Linked DNA regions of Homo sapiens: regions 1, 2 and 4 are each linked to region 3. Evidence: promoter capture Hi-C in 16 types of primary human blood cells and fetal thymus (Javierre and others, 2016). All regions are on one chromosome and are shown on one strand. The core of a region is centred on a gene start or on the middle of the fragment in contact, and the rest is flanking DNA. Distances in the headings are between cores, read along the strand shown.

The links. The method cuts DNA at HindIII sites, captures the fragments that hold promoters and counts their contacts. A CHiCAGO score of 5 or more calls a contact.
Region 1: a contact is called between a fragment that was not itself captured here and the fragment with the promoter of PTRHD1 in region 3, in 1 of 17 cell types (neutrophils). The highest score is 5.7, in neutrophils.
Region 2: a contact is called between a fragment that was not itself captured here and the fragment with the promoter of PTRHD1 in region 3, in 8 of 17 cell types (neutrophils, megakaryocytes, erythroblasts and 5 more). The highest score is 14.0, in neutrophils.
Region 4: a fragment that was not itself captured here is called in contact with the fragment with the promoter of PTRHD1 in region 3 in 1 of 17 cell types (neutrophils); the score reaches 6.6 in neutrophils.

What each region holds. Positions count from the first base shown.
Region 1 is chr2:24,508,362-24,515,952 of GRCh38, forward strand. The region is part of intron 1 of NCOA1 (nuclear receptor coactivator 1); the gene reads left to right. Among named protein-coding and RNA genes, the nearest start is that of NCOA1, 21 kb to the left of the region's middle. The HindIII fragment of the contact is 5,933 bases long and covers 404-6,336 here.
Region 2 is chr2:24,450,274-24,457,886 of GRCh38, forward strand. All of the region lies in intron 2 of LOC105374329 (a long non-coding RNA gene), which reads left to right. Among named protein-coding and RNA genes, the nearest start is that of NCOA1, 37 kb to the right of the region's middle. RefSeq lists an enhancer at 6,686-7,283 and a cis regulatory region at 7,485-7,613. The HindIII fragment of the contact is 2,111 bases long and covers 593-2,703 here.
Region 3 is chr2:24,790,157-24,798,041 of GRCh38, forward strand. PTRHD1 (peptidyl-tRNA hydrolase domain containing 1) reads right to left here and starts at 3,235. Exons shown (of 2, transcript NM_001013663.2): 1 at 2,970-3,235; 2 at 1-425. The coding sequence starts at 3,221. The coding sequence ends at 255. It overlaps CENPO (centromere protein O), which reads left to right and starts at 3,269. Exons shown (of 8, transcript NM_001322101.2): 1 at 3,269-3,345; 2 at 3,696-3,809. The coding sequence starts at 3,764. LOC105369164 (a long non-coding RNA gene) reads right to left here and starts at 2,919. Exons shown (of 3, transcript XR_939843.4): 1 at 2,611-2,919; 2 at 2,228-2,428; 3 at 436-1,623. RefSeq lists a silencer at 1,055-1,134 and an enhancer at 2,896-3,325. The HindIII fragment of the contact is 6,911 bases long and covers 1-4,705 here.
Region 4 is chr2:24,467,532-24,474,880 of GRCh38, forward strand. No RefSeq gene overlaps it. Among named protein-coding and RNA genes, the nearest start is that of NCOA1, 20 kb to the right of the region's middle. The HindIII fragment of the contact is 9,179 bases long and covers 1-7,349 here.

The DNA.
Region 1 (7,591 bases), core at 2,120-4,619, 280 kb before region 3:
AGTAAAGTCTATATATGTTGTTGTTGCCTTTCTTTTACAAACCAGAACATTCATTAATTTATTTGCAATGACAAAAAAAAAGGAATGTCCCAAAGTCTAGAATATTCCTGAATATTCTGGTTATGTCATTAGCATAATCACTTCCCCAAGCAGATGTACATGGGGCTGATACTGTCTTTTTTGGGGGGAGAATTCAAAAAAATTTTAATGAATGAAATGTCTCAAGTCTTTTTTAAAATTTGTAGATTCCCTCTTCCCCCCATCCCCTTTTTTTTCTTTGTAATTTATCTTTTGAAGAACCTGTGTGGTTGTCCTGTAGAATTTCCTACAGTCTGGATTGCAGTTTGGTTAAACATGTTGCTCTGCCCTCTCTATATCCTGTAAATTGACAGTTTGATGTAGAAGCTTGATTAAGATGTTATTTTTTTGGTGGGGGGAGGACAAGACAACTTTATAGATAGTATTGTGAGACACACAAAATCTCTGGTTATCTTTTGTGATGTTAGCAGTTGTTGGTATCACTATTGGCTTTTGCTTCTTAAAATCCTAAAGTGATCACCATGTTGTCTAGAAGAAAATGGGGAGGCATTGTCTGGAAATGATAGAGTCTGCTTTGTACAAATAGGACTCCTGGTGTGACCACTTGAGAATGAAGCAATATTGTGTGGAATCAAGAAGATCTAGGTATCAGTCTTGGCTCCTCTGTGTAGGAGCTGTTTGATCTTGCGTAATCAACAAAATCAGCAACAATGACAGCAGCAGCTACATTCACTTAGTGCTTGTTTTGTACCAGATTATGTGCTAAGTGCTTTATATACATTGTGTAATCTAATCTTTATAACAATCCTGTAAGCCAGACATTATCATATTTATTTTTGCAGTTCAGAAATATTAAAGTGTCCAAGGCCACATTGCTAAGAAATAGTGAAACAGGGAGTTCAAGCCCTTGCTTGACTCCAGTCTTGTGCTCATAATCACTTTGTTCTTCTATATCTGTAAAAGTGGGTATACAAATAGCTGCCTTATCTACTTTGGGGGTCAATTAGATGTTGTTTGTGAAAATGCCTTGAAAAATAAGATAGATATTAAAGTGAGAAGTACGCTGGGATGACCATTCATGAGGAAAGGTGGATGGTGGAGGCTTTGCCTATAACTAAGTGACAGTGAAAAGTTTGGATGGAAAGAACCCTGTGGTCATTTTCTGACTTTCATTTCTATTACTATTGCTGTTGAAATGTGGAAGTGTTTTCTTCTCTTGTTAAAATTGAGAGTGATAGAGATTTTACAGGTGGTAAATGTTGCATGTCAGAGGTTGCTTGAGAGTCCCTGGGTGAACAATGATGTCTTGGTTTTACTCCATTTGCCATATATGTAGGCTTAGTACAGATGGGTTTAACAGAGAGAAAGAGTATAGTCACAGTTCAGATTCTTTTTTCTAAAAGGACAAATATTTGTTAAAAGTAGGAGAAATTATAATTGAATGTATAATATTTTATCTCTTTAGCTGGGTAGTGGGTATATAATGTATATTAAAATTATTTTCAGTACCTCTTTATTTGTCTGAACTATTTTATAATGAATAAAACTATTAAAGTACTTACCACTAATATTTGCATGTGTGACAGACTAAGAAAGAAATAGGAGTGAGGTTGGTACCTTTAGGTCTGCCTGCCTGGGGCAGAGTGTAGGACTGTGCACTTTTTTTGAGACGGAGTTTCACTCTTGTCACCCAGGCTGGAGTGCAATGGCATGATCTTGGCTCACTGCAACCTACGCCACCCGGGTTCAAGTGATTCTCCTGCCTCAGCCTCCCCAGTAGCTGGGATTACAGGCATCTGCCACCACACCCAGTTAAGTTTTTGTAATTTTAGTAGAGATGGGGTTTCACCATGTTGGCCAGGCAGATCTCAAACTCCTGACTTTAAGTGATCCGCCTTGGCCTCCCAAAGTGCTGGGATTACAGGTGTGAGCCACCACGCCCGGCTGCACTTTTTTTCTTAAAGGAGACGGGGTCTTGCTCTGTTGCCCAGATGGGAGTGAAGTGGCATGATCATAGCTGACTGCAGCCTCAAACTCCTGGGCTCAAGTGACCCATCTTGGCCTCCCAAGTAACTGGGACTACAGGCATGCACTACCTGGCCTAGCTAATTTTTAAATTTTTTGTTAAGATGGGTTCTCCCTGTGTTGCCCAGGCTGGTTTTGAACTCCTGGCTTCAAGTGATCCTCCTGCCTCAGCCTCTTCGTAATCCCAGACTGTTGGGATTACAGGCGTGAGCCACTGTCTCTGGTAGTGCACTATATTTTCGGTAAACTTTGGTAATGCGTTTATCAGAAAGCCTTAGGGCTTGACCTGGACACATTTTCTTGGTACTTTGCTTCTTGCAGTTCTTTTTGTACTCTGGGGACTTTATTGCCATATTCTCTTTACTGTGGTGAAATATCTAGTATTTCATTCTGGTATTCCCAACAAAGTTTTCCCATTTTCTTGAGATATAAATCATATTCCATAAGTCACCCTGTTAAAGTGTACAATTTGGCAGCTTTTAGTATATTCACAAAGTTGTACAACCATCACCATTGTGTAATATCAAACTTTTGTTTCCTCAGAAAGAAATTCCGTGCCTGTTAGCAGTGTCTCCCCATTCCTCCCTTCCTCAGCCACAGGCACCCACTAATCTATTTGCTGTCTCTATGGATTTGCCTATTTTGTACATTTCATGTAAGTGAAATCATACAATATTTCACCTTTTGTCTGACTTCTTTCACTTAGTGTAATGTTTTTGAGGTTCATCCATGTTGTAGCATGTATCAGTACTTGATTCCTTTTTATGGCCAAATAATGTCCCACTGTAATCCATTTTGACTACTATGAATAATGCTTCTCTGAACTTTCATGTACAAGTTTTTGCATGGACATATGTTTTCATTTGTCTTGAGTATATGAATTGCGGGGTCATATGATAATTGTGTTTAACATTGTGAGAACGGCAAAACTGTTTTACAAAGTGGCTGCACCATTTTACATTCCCAGCAGCAGTGTATGAGGGTTCTGATTTCTCCACATTCTCCAGTGAAGTGGCATCTCACTATAATTGTTGATTTGCATTTCCCTAATGACTATGTTGAATAGTTTTGCATATGCTTTTTGGCCATTTGTACATTTTCCTTGAAGAAATGTCTCTTCAGATCTTTTGCTTATTTTAAAATTGTGTTGTCTTTTGTACTGAATTGTAAGAATTCTTTATATATTCTGGATGCAAGTCCTTTATCAGATATATGATTTGCAAATATATTCTCCCATCCTGTAGTTTGTCTTTTTACTTTCTTGGTGGTTATTCTTTGAGGGACAAACATTTCTAATTTTGATAAGTCCAATTTATTGATTTTGTTCCTTCTTATGCTTTTGGTGCCATATTGAAGAAACCATTGTCTAATCCAAGGTCACAAAAATTTATGTCTTTTTTTTCTAAGAGTTTTAGTGCTTACATTTAGGTCTGATATATTTTTAGTTAATTTTTCTATATGGTATGAGTTAGATCCCAATTTTTTTTTACAGTGGGGACAAAAGCTCATTATATTCCAAATACATACATCAGTAGCACTTTCAGTTTCCACCTTGCTTGATAATATTTTAATCACTATATGATTCTGCCACTTCATTTGTTTCACCCTCGACTCCCTGCTAAGTATTTGCTGTACCGAAACTGTACTAACTTTTGCACTTATCGTAGAATGTGAAAGTTAGGAGGATGTTTATTGATTATGCAGTTGAATCTCTTAGAGTAGAGCCCTCTGCATCTGTGACAGAAGAGCTTTCAACTGTTTGAACAGTTTTAGAGGTGGTTAGTTCACTGAAGTGTGTTGTACTATAATACAATAGTTATATTAAGAAGTCTTACCTATTCAAACATCATTTTATAAATAAAAAAAGTTTCAGAAGGAACAGGGGTTTAGGAGCTCAATAGGTTTAATAAGTTATTTTGCTTTTAGCAGTTTAAATTAAAGAGAGTTGGTGATTGGATCAAAACCCACAGTGTTTTATAATTAAATGAGAGCATTATATCCACCGGTGCAGTAGGAGAAATGCTTGTATTCCTAAAGCAATTCAGTTCAGTTTTTAAAAGCTCTAATGGCTAGAAAGTTTATTCTTTTTTTCAGTTGGAATGTTGCCCTTGGTAATGACTACCCATTTTATCAAGGTCCTCTTAAAACTCAGAGTCTAAAATTAAACTTCACTTATGTGCAGAGTGGTGCAGCGTGGTACAGAGTGTAATTGACTGATAGTTTTTTTGTTTTTCCTTTTCATATAACCCAGAATTAAGCTGTTAATGGAAGCCATGCTATCTTTGGGGCTCATCTTGAGTTTGTTATCAGTGAAACCCCTCTCTAACAAGAGTTTCTAAGTGCATCTCCTGTTCCTTTGAAACACTACAGTTGTGAAATGTGCTTTGCACCTATAGATCTGGACTCATCTCTGACTGCTTGGCTGCGTAACCTTAGCCAAAACACCGTTTCTTTGATCTCAACTCGCTTTTCTGTTGAATGGAGTTAATTCCTCCATTTTTGCAGTATTGGATGATTAAATGAAATGATTTGTGTGTGTGGGTGCATATGGCTCTACCACACACAGATGAAAGTAAGGCTTGCGAAAACAGCCTTCTGTCACAAGTACTTCTTTGCTGGCCTTACTTAGTCAGATATTAGCTATTTGTTAGCATCCGTCCAGTTCAGATGTCTTGATATCCTGAATTGATAGGAAATATTTCAAACATGCAGAAAAGAATAGTGGAAAAATCATTCCGTGCACCTTCTGCCCAACTTAGATCTTAACATTTTGCCTTATTTCAGATTTTTTAAAAAAGAAGTAAAACATTGTGGAGTTCAGCCTTCTCTGTACCCTCTTTCTTTTACCCCTTCCACATTCCCCAGAGGAAACATTGTTCTGAATATATTTGTTATCTATATATAATGTAATTGTTTTGCATGTTTTAAACCTCAGATACATACTATACTGCAATATGCTCTTGCAGTACCCTTTTTTTTTCTCATCCTTTTTTTCCTGCAATTTCTATTTCATGGCTACATCACAATTTACTTACTCACGCTCCTCTGGGTGGTTATTAGGTAATTTCCATGTTTTATTATTAGACAATGCTGTAGTCAACATTCCTGAACATACTGGTTGTGAACATATGTGCATTTCTATAGAGAGCTTGTAAGGAAAATGTGTGTGTGTGTGTGCGTGCACACGTGTACATATGTGCTTGCGTATAGGATTGGAATCTGGTTGAAAAGTATATGCATCTTCAACTTTGGAGAATAATTTGACATTATTTAATAAAATATACCAATTTAAACATTACTGTCAGAGTGTGAGAGTTTTACATTCCTCAAACATTTCTAGTGTTTCATTTCTTAGCATTATCTAAAATGGGATTCATAAGGTTCTAGATGGTTAGCAGCTGTTAGGGTCAGCAATTTCTCCGGCCAACTGTAGGAGGACTTGGTATGTGTAGAAAACATTTATTCTAGCAAATGAACAGGCTTCTGATACTGTGTGGCTCAGGATCTATGACTAACTTATTCTGGTATAAAGCCACCCAGAATTCATTTGACCAGTTTACTTAAAAACTAGCAAATTTTTAGGCCAGGTGCGGTGGCTCATGCCTGTAATCTCAGCACTTTGGGAGGCCGAGGCAGGCGGATCACGAGGTCAGGAGATCGAGACCATCCTGGCTAACACTGTGAAACCCTGTCTCTACTAAAAATACAAAAAATTAGCCGGGTGTGGTGGCACACACCTGTAGTCCCAGCTACTCGGGAGGCTGAGGTGGGAGAATCTTGAACCCGGGAGGTGGAGGTTGCAGTGAGCTGAGATCACGCCACTGCACTCCAGCCTGGGCAACAGAGTGAGACTCTGTCTCAAAAAAAAAAAAAAAAAAAAAGGAAAAAAACAAAAAGAAAAAAAGAAAAATAGCAAAATTTTTTTATCTCTGAGTCACATAAGCATTGGTAATAGTCTTCATTACCTATATATTACTCGATTAAGCTCTATGTGAGCAAGTAAAGTGAGTATCTGGCAATTGTGACTTAAAATAAATATTATTAAGAGATTAATAAAATAAGCATAGGATAATCTGTAATAAAATGTGAATATAGGACCAGGTGTGGTAGCTCACAACCGTAATCTTAGCACTTTGGGAGACTGAGGCAGGCGGACCACTTGAGCCCAGGGGTTTGAGACCAGCCTGGGCAACATGGGGAAACTCCATATCTACAAAAATACGAAAACTAGCCGATTGTGTTGGTGTGCCTCTGAGGTGGGAGGATCGCTTAAGCTTGGGAGGTCGAGACTGCAGTGAGTGGTGATTGTGCCACTGTGCTCCAGCCTGGGTGACAGGGCAGAGTGTCTCAAAAAAAACAAGAAAAAAAAGTAAACGTATAAATAGATAAATTTATATGGCTTAAGATTTTGATGTTAAAGACATCTAGGATAATTTAATGCAAAGTAAATATTAAGTGTAGTATAATGAATGTTAGGTGAATATGCAGAATTAATAAAGTTACATTAGTTATCCATAGCTTAAAGACAGAGATGGTACGGATTCATTGGATTAAGAAGCAAGTGTGTGAGCCAGAAGAGTGCTTATCAATCTGTGACCTTTGCTTGGACTCCAGGCATTGGAATAAGTTACCAAAGTTGTTTAATCTAATTTAGCATTGAGAAAGAACTTATCTAAAAAAGATTATTTTTGTTTTCAAAAATTTTTTGTTAAAAACATGTTTTGTATGGCGTTCCTAAATTACTAAAGGTGCATTTAGGAACAACTTATTTTGGGGTCATTTATTTTGGCACCCTTTTATTTATTTTCATTTTTATTATTTTTTTGAGACAGGGTCTGGGTCTGTTACCCAGGCTGGAGTGCAGTGGCGCGATCATGGCTCACTGCAACCTCCGCCTACCAGGCTCAAGCAGTCCTCCCATCTCAGCCTCCCAAGTAGCTGGGACTACAGGTTCACACTACCATGCCCAGCTAATATTTTAAAACTTTTTTTTAGAGATGGGTTCTCACTATGTTGCCCAGGCTGGTCTCAAAACTCTTGGGCTCAAGCAGTCCTCCTGCCACGGCCTCCTAGAGTTCTGGGTATTACAGATGTGAGTCACTGTGCCCGGCCTTTGGCAACCTTTTAATAATTTATCTCTACTTTTGGCATTTTGAGTGATTAAGAGTGATTCATGTTATATTACTTGGAGGAAGGCTGTCTTGTTTTCTTGCTTGCTTATTTGCATTATTGAATTATTGGTCCAAAGTTATGAAAAGAATATTGGAACATTATGGAAACTAGGGGGAAATGTTAAAAAGTAGGAGGGAGAAAAAACCTGTAGAGCAAGTAAAGTAAGCAATGACTACCTATACGTAATACTATCCCTAAACAAAAGCTATTAATTTGGTGGGCTTCTGAAAGTTAGTCTAGATTTATAACTTTATTCAGTTTTTTTCCTAAAGCTAGTCTATAATTTATAGAACCAGGAGTTAAAAACAAAACAAACAAAAAACAGAAGCCCTCAGTGAAGCTCCTTCAAGAAAGA
Region 2 (7,613 bases), core at 398-2,897, 340 kb before region 3:
GCTACTTTGTGTGCTTTGAATGTTTATGTGCACCCCCCCATCCCAGAATTCATATTTTGAAACTAATACCCAATGTGAGGGTATTTAGAGATGGGGCCTTTGAGAGGTGATTAGGTCATGAGGGCAGAATGCTCCTGAATGGAATTAATGCCGTTATGAAAAAGGTTTCAGAGAGATCCCCACCCCTTCTGCCATGTGAGGTTACAATGACAAGATGGCCTTTCTATGAGAAAGTGGGTTCTCATCAGATGTAAAATCTGCTAGCACCTTGATCCTGGACTTTCAGCCTCCAGAATTGTGAGCAATAAATTTCTGTTATTTATAAGCCACTCAGTGTATAGTATTTTGTTATAGCTTCTTGAACAGGCTAAGACACTACTGTATAAATGTTCCCCTGGCAGATATTTGATGCTTTTTCTGTGTTCCTTCAGAATTTTGTACCAACTTCTATTATAGCACTGCCTACTTGGGCTGTAAGACAGTTTAGCTCAGTGGCCCAGAGTGGTGACTCTAAAGTCAGACAGATGTGACATAGATTCTTAGCTCTGCCACTTACTAGCTTTGTGACCTCAATCAAATTACCTGACCTATAAGCTTCATTTTCTTGATCTGTCAAATGAGGGTAAGAATAGATAGTCATAAATGCTAAATCAGACAATGCATGTAAAGTGCTTAGTACAGTGTCTGACACATAGTAAACTTCAATTCATCTTTTTTTTTTTAAGAGATGGGGTTTCATCACGTTGCGCAGGCTGGTCTCCAACTCCTGGGTTCAAGAAATCAACCCACCTCAGCCTCCCAAAGTGCTAGATTTACAGGCATGAGCCACTGTACCCAGCCAATTCATCTTTATAGGTGCTTGTCTGCCTTACTGTACTACAGTCTCCATGAAGATGTGGACCATGGTATGTTCTTTTTTTGTACTCAAGTACCTGACATGTAGTAAGTCCTAGTAAGTGTTTGTTGGGTGAATTTGCAGCTCTGTATAATAGTCCTTTTTCTTAACAAAAGGTCATATGCCATGTTGGTTCACTATCTAGGAGACTTTTAAACAGAGAACAGAGAGCCTAGCATGTGCTCATCTGGTAAGGTGTGCTTCAGGGTAAATAGTTATTGATACTTGTAACTCTTTTTAACCTATGATCTAGAAAACTCCATTAGTCTGGCTTTCCCCAAAGTTCTTGTGTCCATTAATTTTTCTGTCCACAAAGTTTTCTACCATCCCCACTGAAGACATGCCTGTGGTTTTCTGGGATGACTAATTATTTTATTTTAAATTCACCTCTAAATCTTTATTCCAGAGCATCCTGTATGCAGTTAAAGTTATTAATATTTTGCATTTGGCACCCCTGAGAAATATCAGCATTCAATTATGGACCACATTCTCCTCTTTTCTCTAGTTGCTCCAATGTTGCATTTCCCATGAAGTTTATTAAGAATTTAAGGAGGGAGGAAAACAACCCAGCTATCTTTCCCTTTGACTGATGGCACTAATTTAAATTTTCCCTTTAAAAGTAATGTGTGGTGATATGGTTTGGCTGTGTCCCCCGCCCAGATCTCATCTTGAATTCCCACGTGTTGTGGGAGGAACCTGGTGGGAGATAATTGAATCATGGGGGCAAGTCTTTTCCCTGCTGTTCCCAGGACAGTGAATAAGTCTCATGAGATCTGATGGTTTTAAAAATGGGAGTTTCCCTGTAGAAACTCTCTATTTGCCTGCTGCCATCCATGTAAGACGTTGACTTGCTCCTCCTTGCCTTCTGCCATAATTGTGAGGCATCCCCAGCCATGTAGAACTGTAAGTCCATTAAACCTCTTTCCTGTATAAATTACCCAGTCTCAGGTATGTCTTTATTAGCAGCTTGAAAACAGACTAATACATGTGAATATATTGGTATAGATATAGGTATTATTATGGCTATACTGGAGACATATATGTAGTTTTTTATATGGATGAAAAAGTCTGGAAAAATACATCTCAACAAGTTAACCGTGGTCATCACTGGGTGGTGATGTTATCGGTGTTTAGTTTTTCTTTCTACTTCTCAAAATAAGGCCTTGATGGGTTGGTTTCTTTTCTGCTTTCACTTTAGCTGTAATAATTCTCCGAGACTATTAACTGTTTTCAAAGTCTATTTTCCCATTCGTTTAGGTAATAGGACCCTTAACTTTTAGCTGAATACAAGATGACCAGAATAAAGACTACATTTTCCAGCCTCCCTTGAAACTAGCAAGAGCCGTGTGTCCCCCTTCTAGTTAATAGGATGCAATTAGAAATGTCACGTGCAATTTGGGGAAAGTGTCCTTGAATGGAAGATGCACTCTCCTTCCTTCCTTTTCTCCTTCTTGCTGATGAGGAGGCAGATTTAATGACTAGAAGTTGAGCAACCCTTTTGGACCAGAAGAATAAAAGTCACACCCTAGGGATGGCAAACTGAAAAGCTGGAAGAGGCCTGGGTTCATGACAATTCCGCAGACCTTGCCAAACTGGCCTTAGACTTCTCATCTCCAGATGTTTTACATGAGGGCAACATATACGTTTAAGGAATGATTAATTTGGGTTTTATGTTATAGACAAATCAAATCCTAACTGGTGTGAAATTAGTGTATAATTCATATTTTCCTTTGCTTCAGTAGTGAAGAATTTGTATTATATGCTCTTCCCCAGACACGCTTAACATAATTTCTGTAAGTGAACTGTCAAGCTTTAATTCTTATGCAGTTTTAAGATTGTTAAATCTTGCATATCTCTAGTTCAATGAAAACATTAGCATATGTTTACCAGAACACACATAAAAAAATGTTCATGGCACAATCCATTTGTAATAGCAACAATTTATTAAACCACTGATAAACATGGTTAAATAAATTGTGGTACAGTCCTGCTATTGAGTGTTACACAATGGTGAAAATGAATAGAGTATGATCTCAACATTATTGATCAACCTTAGCAATATAGTATTGAGCTAAAAGAACAAGTCCTAGAAGACAACATATAATACATTCAAAACAAATAAAACTAGTATACTGTTTAGGCCCACGCAAATGTGCAATGAAATTTAAAGAAGAGCAATGTATGATAAAAACAAAATTTAAAAGAATAGTTACTACTGAGAAGAATGTTGGGGTCTGGTATGGGATGGAACAGGTAGGTCGATGTATGTCATGGAGAGTTTTTGGCTTTTGGGTTGAGAGGTGGGGTTATGAGTGGTTTCTTGTATTATTATAACACATACAACGAAAATAAATGAAATGAGGTTTATTTAAAAACCAATGGGCCAGTCATAGCCCTTGATTCATGACACACTATTAATATGAATCAGAACTGTGATTAATCCAGTTTTGTGCTTCTGAAGTTCATAAAACAATCATACCACTTAGGAAGCTGCCTATTATGCAGGCCTGGTTTTATTTCTATAAATCAGGCAACAAGGATGGATGTGTTTCTATTTGTGTACCCAACTGTTTCCCTAACCAGGTTTTTAAAAATAAACTTTTAATTTTAGAATACTTTTAGATTTACAGAAAAGTTGCAAAGATAGGACAGAGTTCCTGTAACAACCCCCACCAACACCACTTCCCCTGCTGTTAACACCTTGCATTACTGTAGTACATTTGTTCCCACTAATGAACCAATGTTGATACATTATCATTACCCCTACCAGATTTCAGGCTTCCTGAGAGCACAGTCCATGCATTTTAGCATTCCCCATTTTGCATCTAGTCAGTATTCTGCATGTGTTGAATTGATGAGGAAATAAACTTTTTAAATGACCAAATTTTCTGCAATAAGAAGCTCCATATTTTATAATAATTTATAATTTGCTTTAAGTAGCTTTAGCTGCTTTGAGATAGAACCCTGAGCTAAGTTGGGTTTAATGTTCTTAAAAGTCATTGTTTCTGAATTATTTACCAACAGTCTCATTAGAATGAGCACGGGAAGCCAAATGCTGAACTGGGTATTTTTTTTTTCCTCCCTAAGTTTCTTTTCTAAATCAGGTCACGGAAAATGGATGCTATTTCTTTAAATAATATAACCAAGCTGATCCCTGGATTACAATTAGGTTACGTAACTTGCTTATGAGCTGCTTTTCATTAAAACTTGCAGTGGGCAATGGGGCTTTACGTTTCAGAGCAAAGCCGGGGAGAACAATCCTGCCGAAAGCCAGAACACATGCGGTGTCAGTGGCAGAGACTGCAAGAATTTCGGCACGAGATTGAGTTCAATGTAGGCGACTCCTTTTCTCTTTAAATCCTTAAAACATCCTTTGTCCTACCAAACTTGCTGGTTCCAAATACGTCTAAAACGTACATGCTGAGTGCCCACCCCATGAGGGAAGATCGCGTGGCCAGTCCCCAGAAGGCTGAGGAATGAGGAGCCCTCCAGGGAGAACATTATCAAGTTTCTGCAGAACCATAGCTCAGTTTTATTTCTTGCAGAACACACATTACTAGGAAACATTTTAAAGATGTGGACTAGGGAGGTAACAAAAACCTAGTTCCAGCCTATAACCATATATTTGCAAATAAGCATTTCATGGGTACGAAAATCAAAGTTTAGGGTGTCAGATCAGGTAGAAAACAAGAGGCATGGTGTCAAAACCCAAAGAAAAGAAGTCTGAAGAGAGTTGGGATGAGGGTTCATCAAAAAATACAAACATCTGTTCTGAAAAATGGAGAGAAAGCCAGCTTTCCCTAGAAAGGAAGTTGTTCGTTGCTGTTATACAGGATACTCACCACAGGATGAGAGACTTTTTTTTTTTTTTTTGAGACAGAGTCTTGCTCTTGTCACCCAGGCTGGAGTGGTGCAGTGCGCAATCTTGGCTCACTGCAACCTCTGCCTCCCGGGTTCAAGCCATTCTCCTGCCTCAGCCTCCTGAGTAGCTGGGATTACAGGCGTGCGCCACCACGCCTGGCTAATTTTTGTATTTTTAGTAGAGATGGGGTTTCACCATGTTGACCAGGCTGGTCTTGAACTCCTGACCTCATGATCCCCCCACCTCGGCCTCCCAAAGTGCTGGGATTACAGGTGTGAGCCACCAAACCTAGCCTTTTTTTTTTTTTGAGACAGAGTCTGCTCTTGTCGCCCAAGCTGGAGTGTAGTGGCATGATCTCAGCTCATTGCAACCTCTGCCTCCCGGTTCAAGTGACTCTCATGCCTCAGCCTCCTGAGTAGCTGGGATTATAGGTGCATACCACGCTGCCTGGCTAATTTTTGTATTTTTAGTAGAGATGGGGGGGGGGGTTTCACCATGTTGGCCAGGCTGGTCTTGTACCCCTGAACTCAAGTGATCCGTCTGCCTCAGCCTCCAAAGTGCTGGGATTACAGGTGTGAGCCACTGTGCCTGGCCAGGATGAGAGCATTTTTGATACTCATATTAAGACTGCCTCCTAGAAGATGATAACTGCTGGAAATAAAAGTTTTACAATTAGAGTAAGCAAAGTTATCAGAGAATGGGACAAAACACTCTTTTTTTTTTTTTTTGAGATGGAGTCTTGCTCTGTCGCCCAGGCTGGAGAGCAGTGGCACGATCTCGGCTCACTGCAAGCTCTGCCTCCCGGGTTCACGCCATTCTCCTGCCTCAGCCTCCCGAGTAGCTGGGACTACAGGTGCCCACCACCACGCCCGGCTAATTTTTTGTATTTTTAGCAGAGATGAGGTTTCACCATGTTAGCCAGGATGGTCTCAATCTCCTGACCTTGTGATCCGCCCGACTCGGACTCCCAAAATGCTGGGATTACAGGCTTGAGCTACTGCGCCCGGCCGACAAAACACTCTTGACAATAAATTAATGGGGGAGAGCTCTGCTGGAGATTGAAGCAGAACAGGACCATGAGAAGAAAGGACAGTTTAATGCCAAAATTCTACCAAATACAAAATTCTTTTTTGAAATGGAATGATTGCATAGCGATAAAAATAGCAATCAGGAACAATTAAATGAACTTGGAGCCCTTCATGTACTTGAAGAAACACCTGTAATTTACTATATGGGAACAGCCAAAAGGATAATTATTTAAGCAGCTAAATTAAGGCTTGTTTCTTAACTTTTGATAAATGTGATCTCTTACAAATTCTCAAAGTAGAGAAGGATATTTTATTATACAGCTGTCTAAAATATTGGTTAAAGAGAACTCTTTTGTTTTAACTTATAGTTAACTTTTTTAAAAAATTATGGTTAACTTTTAACTTTCAACTACCAATAGTTCATATTTATAGTTGACTTTTGTAAGTTTTTAAACTGAAAAATAAACTTTTAACTATCAATATGACCAATGTAAATGTGAACTATATGCTTGGATGCAAAGCAGTTCATTAATTCTAATGGTATTGCACATTAATCTTGGCTTCAACACAGTCCAAAACTTGCCTAAGCCCTGTTGGTTGCTGGGGAGTTTTTGATTCTTGTGTATGTGTCTAATTTACTAATGAACCTTGGTGTCATTTAGGGCTGAACCAAGAGCATCTGAACGGGTCTGGCCGATCCCAGGCAGCTGGGGAAGGACACCTCGGTGTACTGAGCAGAGCTGGAAGAACACCAGCGCTGGGATGAGTCAGATACTCTCAGAGTGTGTAGTGAGTCAGAATCAGTGCCCCCACTCCCCTAGCTGTAGCAAAAAAACAAAAAATAAAAAGGAAAAGAAAAAAGGAAGGTATTAAAGGACACACCACAAACCCCCTCCCCGTGACCCTTCGTACCCTGAGTGTTGTGGACCCTGCCTATTCCAAGGAGGCACAGACCAGAGGCCATAATGTAAGCGATGGCCAGAGGTGAAACCAGCAAATCCAACCTCAACCCTAACTCTGACATGATGGACAGCAAGAAAGGGGACAGGTGGGCCAGCACCTGTCACTGGGGTGTCATCATCAGTGATGCATCTTGGGGAATCTGCAAGTGATCTTGGGAGCTGGGAATGCACCAGAATATGTGAGCTCTGGTGTCTTAGAGACTTTGGTTTAAATGTAAATCCTTTCTTTGTCATTAAGTGGGTGTTACTGGGACAAGTCTCTTAAACTCTGAGACACACATCCCTAATCTGAAGGTGATAATGTCCTTTCTCACTAGGTGGTTGGTTTGGTGGGGGTGGGGGGTACAGATTGCTAAAGATGATTTCATGCTTTCACTTAGCTCAACTCTGGGCCTGACATGAATGAGGTACTCCATAAATACTTGCTGAATAAATGTCTAAGTGATGCCACCACTAGATCACCCAGCTGAGGCTGTGCTTGACACCTGGTTGACATGTTTTCCAGGACACGGTCTCTTAAGACCCTGTTGCCTATCCCCTGGAGATCAGGAGCAGAGTCTGTTTCCTCATCTGGGAATATTCTGTGTCCTATAGAGAAAGCTTATGCAGAAAAGTTACACATGGAAACATCTCAAGTATTCAAAAGCACTGTTCAATAATCTACAGACATGCACAGTGTTCATGAAAATGACTCTCCTAGCCAATACGCCACTGGTGAATATTAGTATCTTGGTGATGAGGAACCAGAGGCTTTTGAGGCTTATTTCAGTATTTGTGCTCATTTTTGGAGAAATACCATCCAACATTCTTTTGACCAAATTTTACTGAAAGCTTCTCCTCTGCAAGGTTTTGTTTTAGGTCCACCC
Region 3 (7,885 bases), core at 1,985-4,484:
TCCTTGAGCCCCACAGGAGAGTCTAACCAAATCTTCTATTTGAGCAATGATCCCCAGACAATACTGCTCTCCCACCTTCCCCACTTGAACTTATTAATAAGAGGAAGTAGTTATTAATGACAACTTTAATATGAACATGTGCTTAACCCTCAAGAAATTGTCACAACTGAAAGACGGGAGCAAGCTGACACTGCAAGGAACACATGATGCTTTGGAATGGGTGGCCTGCGTATTCAAACACATCAAAGCAGCAGTTACTTGAACAATCGGAACTTCTTCAAATACTGGCCCACTTCTTCCTTGGGGTAGGGCCGGAGAGCAATACAAGTGGCGATATTCTCTGGTTGCTCAAGCCACAGCATGTGGTCAATGTTCTTCTGTTGCAGGGTCTCGGCCAGCTCCTTTAGGGTGGTCTCATCTGGGGCCTAAAGGAGAAGAACACAGAACACAAACTGAATAGCCCACTTAGGAAGTGTCAAAAGGCCAAAAAAGGTTTCGGGAGTCCTCTTGCCTGAAAGTGGAGTAACAGCTTTACCAAGGAGGGAGCTGCAGAGCAATGATGTCATTCCGTGGTGCACTGGGGAGGGGAGAGAGGCTTCATATTCCAGTTTAGAAAATGGAGATTTGTATCTTCCCTTGTGAGATGTTGTATGCCCAACACACACATGTGTAATGTGTAATTCTGCTCTATACATTTTCCAGCTCTCCTATGGCTGGCGCCCATAATTTTAAGTGCCTCTGACTTTAAGAGCTGCCTAGTGGAAGTTTTTTTTTTTTTTTCTTTTGAGACAGAGTCTTGCTCTGTCGCCTGGGCTAGAGTGCAGTGGCACGATTATCAGCTCACTGCAGTCTCTGGCTCCCGAGTTCAAGCAATTCTCCTGCCTCAGCCTCCCGAGTAGCTGGGATTACAGGCGCACACCACTACACCTGGCTAATTTTTGTATTTTTAGTAGAGACGGGGTTTCACCATGTTGCCCAGGCTGGTCTGGAGCTCCTGACCTCAAGCAATCCACCCACCTAAGCCTCCCAAAGTGCTAGGATTACAGGAGTGAGCCACCATGCCCGGCCCCTAGTGGAAGGATTTCTAAAAGCACATCCACTTCCACTTTCCTCCACCCCTCCCACTCTACCTCACTGAAACCTAGAGGGGTTTTCCTTCTGCTGGGATGGCTCCCACTTGTTTATTAAAGGGAGAGTACAATATTCTCTAACATCCTTCTGAAATTGTTTCTGGGTCATCCTTACTGCCAATTCACCCATGCTGAATCCCATTCCAGGAAGTATTAAAACGATCACTCAGAAAATTATTATTTTTGTGTTATTTTGCATAAAGTTTATCTCTTACCTATGAAGGCAGAAGCCACTAAGCTACTCAGAGGCTTGTTTTAATAAATTAGAGAATGCCAGTATTGCGACTCTTAACCTGCTGAGTCCTTCTGGCAGAGCTCTGCTGGAGGACTCATCAGCTTCTTCAGCCTCGGGCAGCAGCAGAGCATAGTGAGATACAGTGAGGCTCTGGAATCAGACTACTGGACTCCAAACTCTTGCTGACTGTGTGATCGTGGATAAGTTAGGTGACTTCGCTGGCCTCTTCGTCCCTTTATAAAACAGGAATAATGCTTCCTAATGGGGATCAATGAAATCAGGCTTGGACCTGTGCCTGGCACACACTAAGCACTCAATAAATGTAGTTAATCCTGGTATTTTCTTATATTTTATTGGCCCTTCTGACTACAGCGGCACCTCAATGTAATCAGTAGCGACTCCTAAGTCCCTTTCTTGAGTCATGACTAACAACTAAGAATCATGAGACCCTCTTTTAAACTCAGGGGAGTCACTTAATCCCTGTAGGCTTCAGAGAGTTTCACCTGCGACAAGAGGAGTCTAACCTGATTTCTTGAGACCTCTTACTAGGAAGAAAATCTAAGTGAAAAGCCAGCAGCTTCTGTTCTGCCTACACAGATTCTCAAGGCATTTTTCCTACAGGTTACCGCTTGATGTTTCACTATCCAGCAGCAATTTTTCTCTTGAAAGATAATCTATCTTTGTCAGTTACCCATGAAGGGATTACTCCACCCCTCCACCTGAGTTCTGGCTTAAAGCCGTTTTTCCTTATTATAAAAAGCCGTTTATTATTAAAGCCGTTTTTCCTTATTATAAAATATGTGCTTAAGGTAGAAAATTTTAAAAATACAGATTAAGCATTAGGAAATAACCAAAATCTCACCATGCACTACTTAATATGTAGATGTATTTCTTTAGTTTTTCCTTTCAAAGTCTGGATCATTCTGTATATATAGTTCAGTTAGCTTCGCATCATGAGCACTCTTCCCGACCACTAAATATGCTTCAAAACCATAAGGGCTCCCATGAATATCCTTGTGCAAAGCTCTTTGGGTGCATCTGATTATTTTCTTAGGCTACATCTCTAGCAGCAGGATAGAGAGTCAAAGGGTAAGGGTGAGATTTGTTTGGTCATCTGCAAACAGAACCTGACTGCTATTTTAAAAGGTGTACCGATTTACACACCTGGTGCCTGGTCTAGCTGAAGCTAGGTTCAATTTATACTAACGTTTTTAGTATTTATTTTCAAATAATTTGGCGTCCTACCCAGGTAAATACTCAGTTTGACTTCACTTTGCACTGTCCCTTCGGGCTCGGTTTTGCAGGAGGACAGCACTTTGGGGCATGGCTTTAAAAAGTCGGCCAGTGCACAGGCGGAACAGCGGGGACACAGGAGCCACCACTTTACCGCGAGCCCAGCAGGGGGCGGAGGACTGCTGTCCACTCTTCACACAGTCAGGCCCTTCCCAAGGGCGCACCTCCAGGGAAACAGCTCCAGTCTAAATGTTAACGATCACCCCAACTCCCGCCGCACCCACTCCCCGCAGCCAGGCCTTCGGACCGAAGACCACACCCACTTCCGCCCTCGATGTCTCAGCACCTCCCCCTCCGCCCGAGTGCCTCACCTCGAGGACCACTTTGCGCATGCGCCCCAGCTCTTGGAGGTAAGCGGCTGTGTGCGGGTGGTCGCGGTGAGTGTGCAAGGCCGCGGTGGCCGCGTGACAAGCCTGCGCTACCAGTGCGCCCGCCGGCCAGGAGAACGGAGCTTGTGATAGATCCTTTCGTAACACCAAGTATTGTACCAGGACCTGCGGCTCCGCCCCAGAGGCCGCCATCTTCCTGACCACCCGAAAGGCCGGACCTACTCCCCGGTGCATCTTGGGATCAGGGCGGGGCCCTGAGCGCCGCCATGCTTTTGTACGGCAGGATCGCAAAGCACGCCGGGACCGGTTGGTTTGGTTTTGAAGACGTGGATGGCGGGAATTCTCGCTTCTGGCCTGGGTGAGCTAGAAGGGAGAAGGTAGGGGAAAGACCCATTGTCGGACCGGACCGTGGCCAGGGTGGCGGGCTGAACGGCCTTCTTAAAACTCCTTCCGTGGCCGGGAAGCCCGCTGGACCAGAGTAGCCGTGGCCTCGGGAGCGCGCCGGGGCCGCGGGATGGGCGCGGGGGTGGGCATGGACTCTGCTGGCTCGGACGATGGGAGAGGGCGGGCGGCTCAGGAAAGGGGATCCTAGCCGTGACATTTGTGTCATCCGCGGCCCAGGGGTTGTGCCTGAGTGGTGTGTGCCCTGCCGTCTGGGTTTGAATGGGACTAGATGTGATGTGACTGTTGCCATTTTTCTTTTATTAGCAAGGACATTGGAGTCCCTATCACCGGTTGCCTAGACAACTTCATGGGAAGGCCCTTGGGAATCTGAGATGGAGCAGGCGAACCCTTTACGTCCAGATGGCGAGTCCAAAGGAGGTATTCAGAGGGTCGCCGCCTCCTTCCTGCTGCTGCCCAAAGATGACCCGCAGGCTGAGAGAGCCCTTTCCTCCTGGAACTGACGTGGGACCTGGCCTGTTTGGGAGCAGAATAGTGAAAGGAACTAACATTGAAGACAAAGGGACAGGCAGCCAAGATTATTCGAGGAGGAAAAATGGCTTCGTTTCTAGGCTCCCACCCCTTTTGAAACGGATAAGTTGCATCCATCATATGCTCAGTGTTTATATTCTGAACTGCGGTTCTAGCCAGGGAGGTCCCTTTCCTCTCCCCGGATTTTTTGGGCCATGTATGCATTACTCTTGAGGGAGGGCCAGTGTAGGGCAGTGACTTTAGTGTTGGCTAGAACTGGTTTTGAGTGTTGGCTCTGCCATGATAAATATTGTGACCTTAGGCAAGTCACTTTATTCTCTGCCTCTGTTTCTTCATCTGGAAAATGGAGGTGAAAATAGCACTGTAGTTGTGGTTGTGGAAAAAGTATTTCTTTTGTGGTGGAAAAGTATTGAACTCAGACTTTTCAAGTGAAGCATTTAGCACATGTCTAATATATAGGAAATATTCAATGAAAGGCTTAATTCTTTACATACTTTGTGTCTTAAAATGTAGAAGGTGTTTAAAGAATGCTTGTTAGAGTTGCTTAGAATTACGAAACTATTACTTTTACTTAGTCCTTAGTCAATCCTTTGGAAACTGAGATTTGCGTTTGAATTTCTGTCCAGGAGTAAGTTGCTTTCTTCTTTAGTGCCTAGTAATATTTGTGGACAGTTCTGGTTTTGTGTGACTTTATGTTCTTTGCTACTAATACTTTTTAGAACTTTGAAATACTTACTCAAGCCTGATGCCTAAATCCAAAGGGTTCTACGTTAGTACTTTGGGAAAGCTTGCCATAAAACCTAACTTAAATTACAGTTTTAAAAAGAATTTCTGAGCGCGTCAGTGAATTTGGTTATCCTATTTTTCTCTGGGTCATCATTATCATTGATAACAGAGAAGTAACTATATTCAGCCTAAGATGACTTAAGCTGAGACTTTAGATAATAAAAGTATATGGGGTAAGATTTATTGTTACTTTAAGACTAAAAATAAGTTTGGTGACTTTATGTAGTGGAAACATGCTACACTCAGGAGTAACCTGTTCTCTAGTCCAGGCCTTATTTCATTTCTGTTAAAGTAAGTGATGAGGTGGAAGTTTTGGATTATCAAGAGACTTAGACCAGTCTCCTTATTCTCTACCCAAAACAATATTTAAACACTTAGCTGTTACCCATACTGGTTTTATCCCTCTGCTTGTTTGATTTCAGTTTTTTGCTTATTATTTGAATTCTCCCCACTCATTTGAGAAGGAAGGACATGGAGTTGTAGTTGCAACCAGATGATTTATTCAAATAGGCAGGGATTTTGACTTTTTTTGGGACAAAGCTGACTGGCTAGGATGAGATGCAATCATAACTTCCAAGGTAAAGCAGGCCCAGCAGATACACTCCCTCTTTTCTGTAGTAGCAACGCTAAACAACAACGCTACCCCCTTGGTGTAGAGGGAATCAGGTCGGTAAAGAAGCTGGGCAGGTTTGAGAGCCTGAGAAGAGGGCTGTGTGGAAGTGCCTAGAGAAGGAGCAGCATGATACTGTTTTGAACACCTACTTATCTCAGAAACTTTGGGAATATTGATATCTACTGTTTTAGTAATATAGAATTTCCATAAAGTAGAATTTGGTGAGGCGTCTCCTCTACCACCCTAAATTATTCTATGTGTGCGTGCTTTTCAGATCACCTCCTGGTTGGACATTAATTTTTGTAAGCTCCGTGAGGACAGGGACTTCGTTTTGCCACCACAGTATGAATAACTTCCAGCACGGTCCTTGGTCCATAGTAAATTCTCAATGCATAGTTGTTGGATAAATAGAGATTGGTGAATAAAGCAGTTAATCACGTGCTAATTATTAGGACTAATTTATTTAATTAGAATTTTGGTTTCTCACGATTATTATTGCGGTAATGTGGGTTTTTCTGTGGACATGAGCCAAGTGAATGTAATCTCCAAGAGTGTCATGCCTGGTTGTCCGTGTTTCGGTAAACATTTCCGGAGTGTTGGCCGGGCGCGGTGGCTCACACCTGTAATCCCAGCACTTTGGGAGGCCAAAGCGGGTGGATCACAAGGTCAGGAGTTCAAGACCAGTCTGGCTAACATAGTGAAACCCCATCTCTACTAAAAATACAAAAATTAGCCGGGCATCGTGGTGCATGCCTGTAGTCCCAGCTAATTGGGAGGCTGAAGCAGGAGAATTGCTTGAACCTGGGAGGTAGAGGTTGCAGTGAGCTGAGATCGCGCCACTGCACTCCAGCTTGGGCAACAGAGTGAGATTTCGTCTCAGAAAAAAATAACCATTTCCGGAGTGTTTACCATGTGTAAACACTTTGTGCTAGGGTTAAGGGATCCATGGGTGAACACAAATGCACACGGTCCCTGATTTTGGAACTTTAAGGTTCAGTGGAAAAGATAAGCAAATCAAATAATCACACTAATGAATATACAATTAAAACTATAGTGGCCGGGTGCGGTGGCTCACGCCTGTAATCCTAGCACTTTGGGAAGCCGAGGTGGGAGGATCGCTTGAGCTTAGGAGTTTGAGACCAGCCTGGGAAACATAGTGAGACCCCATCTCTTTATTTAAAAAACAAAAACAAAAAAACTATAGTATTGTCTCAGAAGGATCTTTGAGAGCTTATGAGCTGGCACCTGACCTTGTTCTGAAGGTGCTACAAAGGTTTCCCTGAGGAAATGCTGCTTGCATTGAGTGCTAACGAGCTAGAGTAGCTGCAGGTGAAGGTGGATAAGGGGCGGCTGTGGAAGAGCCTTTGGTGTGTGTGTTGGGGGTGGGGGGATCAGGTCAGTAAAGACGCTGGGCGGGTTTGAGAGCCTGAGAGGAGGCCTGTGTGGAAATGCCTAGAGAAGGAGCAGCATGATACTGATGAGGGTAAGAGAGATCCAGAGGCCAGTAGGCCTCGTAGGCAGTGTGAAGTCATCGAAAGGCTTTAGCCAGCTGGATGACACGATCCAGTTTAGATTTTGAAATATGGCTTCAGTGTATGGGCCACCTAGGAAACTTGTAATAGGCCAGAAATGGTAGTAGCTTGAACTACAATGGTGGCATTGCAGATGGGGAAAATGGAAATATTTTAGAGATACTAGGAATGTATATTCAATAGGATCTGGTAATGGATTGGGACTGGGTCAGGGAGAAGGTGTGAGGAAGAAAGTACTGGTTTACACAGCTATAGATGGATAATGGTTCCAGTCATGGAGGGGTTTAGAAGGGGAGATGATGAATTCAGTCTTGGACATGTTGATTGTCAGGTTCCTGTAAGTCTTCCAAGTAGATACACTGAGAAGGCAGGTGGATATTCTGCTTTCTCAAGAAGCAGGAGAGAGGTATAAGCTAGAGATACATATTTGTGTGGCATCGACATGTATGGCCATTAAGGCTGTGGGTACTGATGAGATTTCTTCTGGAAAGAAGAGGTCTTAGGACTGAGCTCTGGAAAATTTCAGCATTTAATGGTCAAGGAGGAGAGTAGGAGCCTTCAAAGCAGAAAGTGGGGTCAGAGAGGTAAAATGTAAGTGTCACAAAAACAGGTTGTCTGTTGTTCATCACTATGTTCCCAGTGCCTGAAATAGTACTTGGCACAAAATAGATGCTTAATAAACATCTGTTGAACAAGGCATACCAACAGGCCGCTATGCTAAGATTCAGAGGAAAAGAGGGTTTCGTGAAGGTGGTGATCAGTAGGAGCATATAGTGCTGGGAGGTGAGATAAGGGAGCTTGAAAAATGTCCTTTGGGTTCAGCAACATGGATATCACTGTTGATCTTAGAGTGGTTTTGTAAAATAATGGGAACAGAAGTGAGTTTCAAGTGGGTTGAGGTATGAGTCACAGGCAAGAAAATGGAGAAAGTGAGTACAAGTTGAGCACTGAAGATCCAAAATCTGAAATACTCCAAAATCTGAAGCTTTTTGAGCACTGACATGATGGTCAAAGGAAATGCTTATTTCCAGTTT
Region 4 (7,349 bases), core at 2,693-5,192, 320 kb before region 3:
GAGGTAGTTGGGAGAGAAGGTAGAAAATGGGTTATCTCTAGCTGAACTTCAGGTTCAACGTCATCTTTATTTTGATCTACAGAGTCCTAGTAGATGACAATACAGGTCTATACACAAGTGATAAATTGTGCAATCAACCAATTCATCCATTTCACAAATGGGAGTGATTGTTTGCTTTATGAAGTGAACTCTTACTTTATATGAGGAACCATCATGGGATTCCTTCAAACAGCAAATTCTCTTTTCATATATACAAAATGATTTATTTTACAAAGGGTGATTACCTGTGGCTTTCTCTCAGGAAAAGGAAGTGAGGTGTCTTCCATCACAATCATATGCCTTACAGTTTTGATACAATACTCAGTCCAGTTCATTGATTTCCATTCTTAAGTACATAAAAATCTTTTTTCTCCCTGGTTTATTTATAGTTGCATCCCATGGACAAATATCCTTTACTCAACATCTCCTTTTACTTTCTTACATTTATCTTGGCTTTCTTTTCCTTTTTACTGTTTACTCCTACACCATTTCCCCTTCCCATTTTAGTCAAATTTGCTTTTGCTCTTTTTGTGCACTTCATAGGTGGACATCCAAGGACATTGATGAATGAAGCTCCAGTCAAGGGTCTGTAGTGTTAAGGCAGCCACATCCAGGCTCTCATAGCACAGAAATACCAGTAACGCTATTGCTCAGGTGTGCTGCGTATGCTTATTCTACTATGCAAGTGATTATATGCCTCAGTTCCACAGTTGACCTTATATCCCAAATCAGCTCAATAAATTAGAATACTTGGCCCCTTTTTTTTAACTTTTATTTTAGGTTCAGGGGACATGTGCAGGTTTGTTATATAGGTAAACTTGTGTTATGGGGGTTTGTTAAATAGATTATTTTGTCACCCAGGTACTAAGCCTAGTACACAATAGTTATTTTTTCTGATCCTCTCTCTTCCCACCCTCCACCCTCAAGTAGGCACAAGTGTCTGTTGTTTCCCTCTTTATGTCCATGTGTTCTCATCATTTAGCTCCCACTTCTGAGTAAGAACATCTGCTATTTGGTTTCCTGTTCCTGCATTAGTTTGCTAAGGACAATGGCTTCCAGCTCCATCCATGTTCCCACAAAGGACATGATCTTGTTCTTTTTTATGGCTGCATAGTATTCCATGGGACGTTCATACACTGTTAGTGAGAGTGTAGCTCAACTGTTGTGGAAAGCAGTGTGGCAATTCCTCAAAGAGCTAAAAGCAGAACTACCATTCAACCCAGCAATCCCATTACTGGGTATATACCCAAAGGAATACAAATTATTCTACCATAAAGACACATGCATGTGTATGTTCATTACAGCACTATTCACAATAGCAAAGACATGGAATCAACCTAAATGCCCATCAATGACAGATTAGACTTGGCCTCTTATGGAAACATATTTTGTTGTTGTTGTTGTTGTTGTATATAATGGCCCTGACTCATTAACTCCTTAAGTCATTCCCCACGTTAGCTAGTTTTCTGTTATCTTCACTTTGATGTTAAGCCAACATCTTAGCATATTTAAAATTGAATTTCTCATACTCTTAGTCACATTATATTCCCTTTCCAGCTTCCTTACTGATGATGATGATGATGAACATTACTGCCTTTCACTTGTCCAGCACATTGCAGCTTTCCTGCACATCATCTTATTTGTGCCTTACAAAACCACTATGTGGTGAGCAGAGACACTTTACAAATGAGAAGAGTGGGCTAAGAGGGGTTAAGTCACTTGTTCAAAGTGGTAGGGACAGGTCTTCTCACTCTCGGTCCTATGCCTTAAGCTCAGAGGCACTACCCTGCTTCTCAAGCTAATAACCTCATCATTCTTTCTGTTCCTTTTTCTCTTGCACGTCCCATGTCTAACTCATCAAAAACTTATCCTAATTTTTTCTTCTACAATGTCTCATACTTGCCATTATCAAAGCAGTTAAACAACTGCCTTCTTGGTTCAGGCCCTCATCTGCTCATTTGTGAGTCACTGCAAGCATCTCCTGTTTTCCACATTTCTGTTCTTTTCTGCTCTAATTCATCCAAAAGGCATTGGTTAGAATATTGTTTATTTTGCATATTTTCTCTCTTTCATATCTTCTTCCCTTTTTTTGGAATGAAGGGTCCACATAGCAGTTGTTGGGACAGCTAGTAATTACCTTAGTAATTCCCATGCCCCACTTGAATAGCAAATATCTGTGGATAATTGGAAAAATAATGTGTGAAGATGCTGCTCTCATGGTATCACTCCCTTGTGGCCCATATCAGTTTTCTATTTCCTGTTCTGGAAAATGCAATCCCTGCAGGCCCTATATCCAAGACTGTCTATTAACTGAATTTGCAGACCCTGCCCTAAGTACCAAGGTGATGTAGTATTTATGCCATCTGTCTCAAATTCAAGGGTGCTTGTAGCCAGGGGACTACCTTCAGGGGAATAAGTGATGTATAGCTATAAATTTTGGTGATGCCAGAAGTAGCCCAAATAATATGAAAAGAAGCAACATGTACTGTGTACCTTTTTGATGCCACCAACAACTCTGGTATTTTACCTACTTTATCTAATTGAATGCCAACATCAACCCTGCAAAGCAGAAAAGCACAGGGGTGGGGTGCAGGGAATCCCAGCTAGGCCGACAAACCTAGGTTCAGCCCAGAGTTCTGACAGATCTATAAATGTCTGGAAGTCTGTTGGGAGGGAATCTATTTGCTTCAAGAATCAAGGAAGTCCAGAGAAAGAGCTCATTCTAAGGACAATGGGGCAAATTTGGGTGAAAGTGGGAGGGATGTCATGAATATTGTAAGCTGCTTGTCGCTAACATTATATGCTGTCTCTGCTCTGGGGATTTCTGCCTTAGTCTAGTGAGATTGAATAAAAGAATAGAAGCAAACAAACAAAGCCACTGCAATTGAAAGCTATTAAGGCAAGATAGTATGACCTGGAGCACCCTTGCTGGGCAGCGTACGTGGCAGAGCCATGGGGCTCTGGAAGGAACCGAGAGCACGTAGTGATCTGGGAGCATGAAGGCATTGGGAACCTGTAGCCTCAGCCCAAGCCTTGACCATCTGGCCACTCCAGGGTGCCAGAGGCAGAAAACAGGGAAATGGAGACGCTATTGGCTGCTTGGACAAATATAGTGCTTTAAGAATACATTTTAAAAAAGAAGAAGAGGCCAGGTGTGGTGGCTCATGCCTGTAATCCCAGCACTTTGGGAGGCCGAGGCGGGTGGATCATGAGGTCAGGAGATCGAGAACCATCCTGGCTAACACGGTGAAACCCCATCTCTACTAAAAATACAAAAAAAATTAGCCGGGTGTGGTGGCGGGCGCCTGTAGTCCCAGCTACTCAGGAGGCTGAGGCAGGAGAATGGCATGAACCCAGGAGGCGGAGCTTGCAGTGAGCCGAGATCGCGCCACTGCACTCCAGCCTGGGCGACAGAGCGAGACTCCTTCTCAAAATAATGATAATAATAATAATAAAATTTAAAAATATATATATATGAGAGAACCACTCTCTCCATGTTACATCCCCTTCCTCACTCTCAGAGTAATTTGGGAGGAAATCAGAGACCTATTTCAGAAATATTAGTGAGGAAGCAGGACCAGGGAAATGATAACTATTAAAAAAATTTTTTTTTTAAATAATAGAGACAGGTTCTTGTTATGTTGCCCAGCCTGGTCTTGAACTTCTGGACTCAAGCAATCCTCCTGCCTCAGCCTCCCAAGTAGCTGGGACTACAGATGCAGGCCACCACGCCCAGTTAATTTTTAAATTTTCTGTGGTGATGGGGGTCTCATTATGATGCCCAGGCTGGTCTTGAACTCCTGGGCTCAAGCAATCCTTCTGCCTCAGTCTGCAAAATTCTGAGATTACAGGCATGAACCACTGAGCCCAGCCACTATTATTATTTTTGTCGGCATAATTTCAGCTACTACCTATTCTCACATCTGGCTAGTATGGCCTGGGAAGCAGATCACAAGTATATTTTCATCTCCGTTATACATGACAAATTGAGCCTTGAGAAATTTAAGTAACTTGTCTAAATTAATACAATTACGAAGTGGCAGAGCTCGGGTTAGGATTCTGGTCTTTTTTATTTCAATGCCCATGTTCTTCCCACTACATTATTTATTCAACAAACATTTATCGAATGCCCACTATGAGTCACTCACAAGAGGCAATAAGGAACAAAAAAGCCCCTGCCCACATGAACCTTACATCCAGTGGCAGAGACAGCTGTTCACCAAAATTTGTAGGCTCCTCTTCTTCCTGCACTCATAGCTAGACTACATTTCCCAGCTTCCCTTGCAGTTAGGTCTCTCGCCAGTCGAACATGAGTGGAAATGAGTGGCACTTCTATGCCTGGCCCGTAAGAACCTCCCTCCCATGTTTCTGTATACTGAAAGGACTAGTGCAACCTTGGAAGTCAACTGTGAAAATGGCAGAGCTGCCTCCACTGATGAGGAACACGTGACTTGGCCTGTTATATCATTAATAACTCAATTTATATTGTGGTTGAGACATAAATTTAGGAGAGTTTTTTTTTTTTTTTTGAGACGGAGTTTCGCTCTTGTTGCCCAGGCTGGAGTGCGATGGTGTGATCTTGGCGCACTGCAACCTCTGCCTCCCAGGTTCAAGGGATTCTCCCGCCTCAGCCTCCCTAGTAGCTGGGTTTACAGGCACGCTCCACCACGCCCAGCTAATTTTGTATTTTTAGTAGTGACGGGGTTTCTCCATGTTGGTCAGGCTGGTCTCAAACTCCAGACCTCAGGTGATCTGCCCGCCTCAGCCTCCCAAATTGCTGGGATTACAGGCATGAGCCACTGCGCCTGGCCAGGAGTTTATTTTTTATAGCATTAGGTACATCTTAATGAAAACATACTCCTAAAATAGATCAGTATACCAAAAAGACACATGTGCTTGTATGTACATTGCCACATTTCATACATAGTAAAGGCATGGGATCAACCTAGGGGCCCATCAATGGTGGGTTGGATAAAAAAAATATATATGGTAGAGATACATGATGGAATACTATGCAGCCATAAAAAAGAATGAGATCATGTCCTTTGCAGCAGCATAGATGGAGCTGGTGGCCATAATCTAAGCAAATTAATGCAAGAACAGAAAACCAAATACTGCATGTTCTCACTTACAAGTGGGAGCTAAACATTGAGCTCCCACAGACATAAACATGGGAGCAATAGACACTGCAGGCTACTAAAGGGGGAGGGGAGGCGGTGGGGCATGGATTGAAAAACTACCCATTGGGTACTATGCTCCTATCTGGGTTCCATATACCCACGTAACAAACCTGTACATGTACCCCCTCGTATCTAAAATAAAAGCTGAAATAAAAAAAATACTCCTACATGAATACCTGCCTAGAGTGATTTTCATTTTACCAGAAGAATTATAGATAAAGTTTCTTCCTTTTTAAACTAAACTACTCCCTTGAAAATCTAGTGGTGTTGGATGTCAAACAATCATCTGCTGACCCAAAGGGGCTCCTGCCAGCTGCATGGGCACCATGAAGGACTCATGTGAGAAGGCCCGCCTTGATCCAGCATGGCGTATGTGACTGAGGGGGTAATTCCATCTATGTCTGGTTTTGTCTTAACCATCCCACTTTGCAAAAACACTTGATGCCACACTCTGCAACTTGGCCTCTAATCGATTATAATAAAGGTGACATTTAACCTCTCTCTGCCACTCTTTTGCATTATTTTTCCATTTGTTCAGAACTCAGGTTGGGAAGATGGTTGTTACTTATTGGGCCCCCACAGAGACCTCAAAAAGTTATCATAATTTTTGGATAAATCAGTAGTCAAGGATTGTATTATAATTGTGTAAATAATTGTCACTGTTGAACCAAGTAGTATATTGTGATTATGTCTTGTTTCTAGTTTGATTTTTTTCTTGAAGTTAATGAATGCCATGTTTTTTGTTCTTAATTTATTTTTAGTTTTGTATGGACCTATACTATTTTTCCAACTACTATAATTGCTCTGTCTAAAATTTTTCAAGCAGTACACTAAGAGCACTAAGCCTAAAGGAAAAGCCAGGCAGGGTGTGGTGGCTCACACCTGTAATCACAGAACATTGGGAGGCTTAGGTGGGAGGATTGTTTGAGCCCAGCCTGGGCAACATAGTGAGTAGTGAGATCCCCATCTCTACAAAAAAATTCTAAAATTAGCTGGATGTGGTGGTGCATGACTATAGTCCCAGCTACTTGGAAGGCTGAAGCAGGAGGATAGCTTGAGCCAAGATGTTCAAGGCTGCAGGGAGCTATGATTATGTCACTGTATTATGTCACTGTACTCCAGCCTGGGCAACAGAGAAAGGCCATGCCAAAAAAAAAAAAAAAAAAGAAGAAGAAGAAAAGAAAAGCCAACAAAACTAAAAAACATTAATTTTAAGAACTTAAGATCATCAAATGATAAGATTAAGAGAGTAAAAAGGAAAACCACATAATGAGAGAAGACATATGTAATATATATATCCCAAGAAGGATTTTTGTCCAGAATATATAAAGAACCCCTACAGATCAATAAGAAAAAGAGACAATACAATCAGAAGGTGGGCAAAAGATTTTGACGGGCACCTCAAAAAAGAGCATTTCAAATGGCCCTTAAACATATGAAAAGATACTCCACTTCATGAGTCATCTGAGGAATCTAAATTAACATCACAATAAGATATTGCACACCTACCAGACTGGTTAAAATAAAGAATTGTCAAGGATGTGGAACAACTGGAATTTGTACGCACTGCTATTAAAAACATAAATCTGGGCCGGGCTCGGTGGCTCATGCCTGGTAATCCCAGCACTTTAGGAGGCTGAGGTGGGCAGATCACAAGGTCATGAGTTCAAGACCAGCCTGGCCAATATGGTGAAACCCCGTCTCTACTAAAAATACAAAAATTAGCTGGGCGTGGTGGCAGATGCTTGTAGTCTCAGCTACTCAGGAGGCTGAGGCAGGAGAATCGCTTGAACCCAGGAGGCCGAGATCGTGCCACTGCACTCCAGCACTTTGGGAGGCTGAGGCGGGTGGATCAGTTGAGGTCAGGAGTTCAAGACCAGCCTGGCCAACATGGCGAAACCCTGTCTCTACTAAAAATACAAAAAAAAAAAAAAAAAAAAGGAAAAAGAAAAATTAGCTGAGTGTGGTAGCTCGCACCTGTAGTCCCACCTACTCAGGCGGTTGAGGCAGGAGAATCGCTTGAACCCAGGAGACAGAGGTTGCAGTGAGCCGAGATCGTGCCACTGCACTCTAGCCTGGGCGACAGAGCGTGACTCTGTCTCAAAAATAATAATAATAATAAAATAAAAA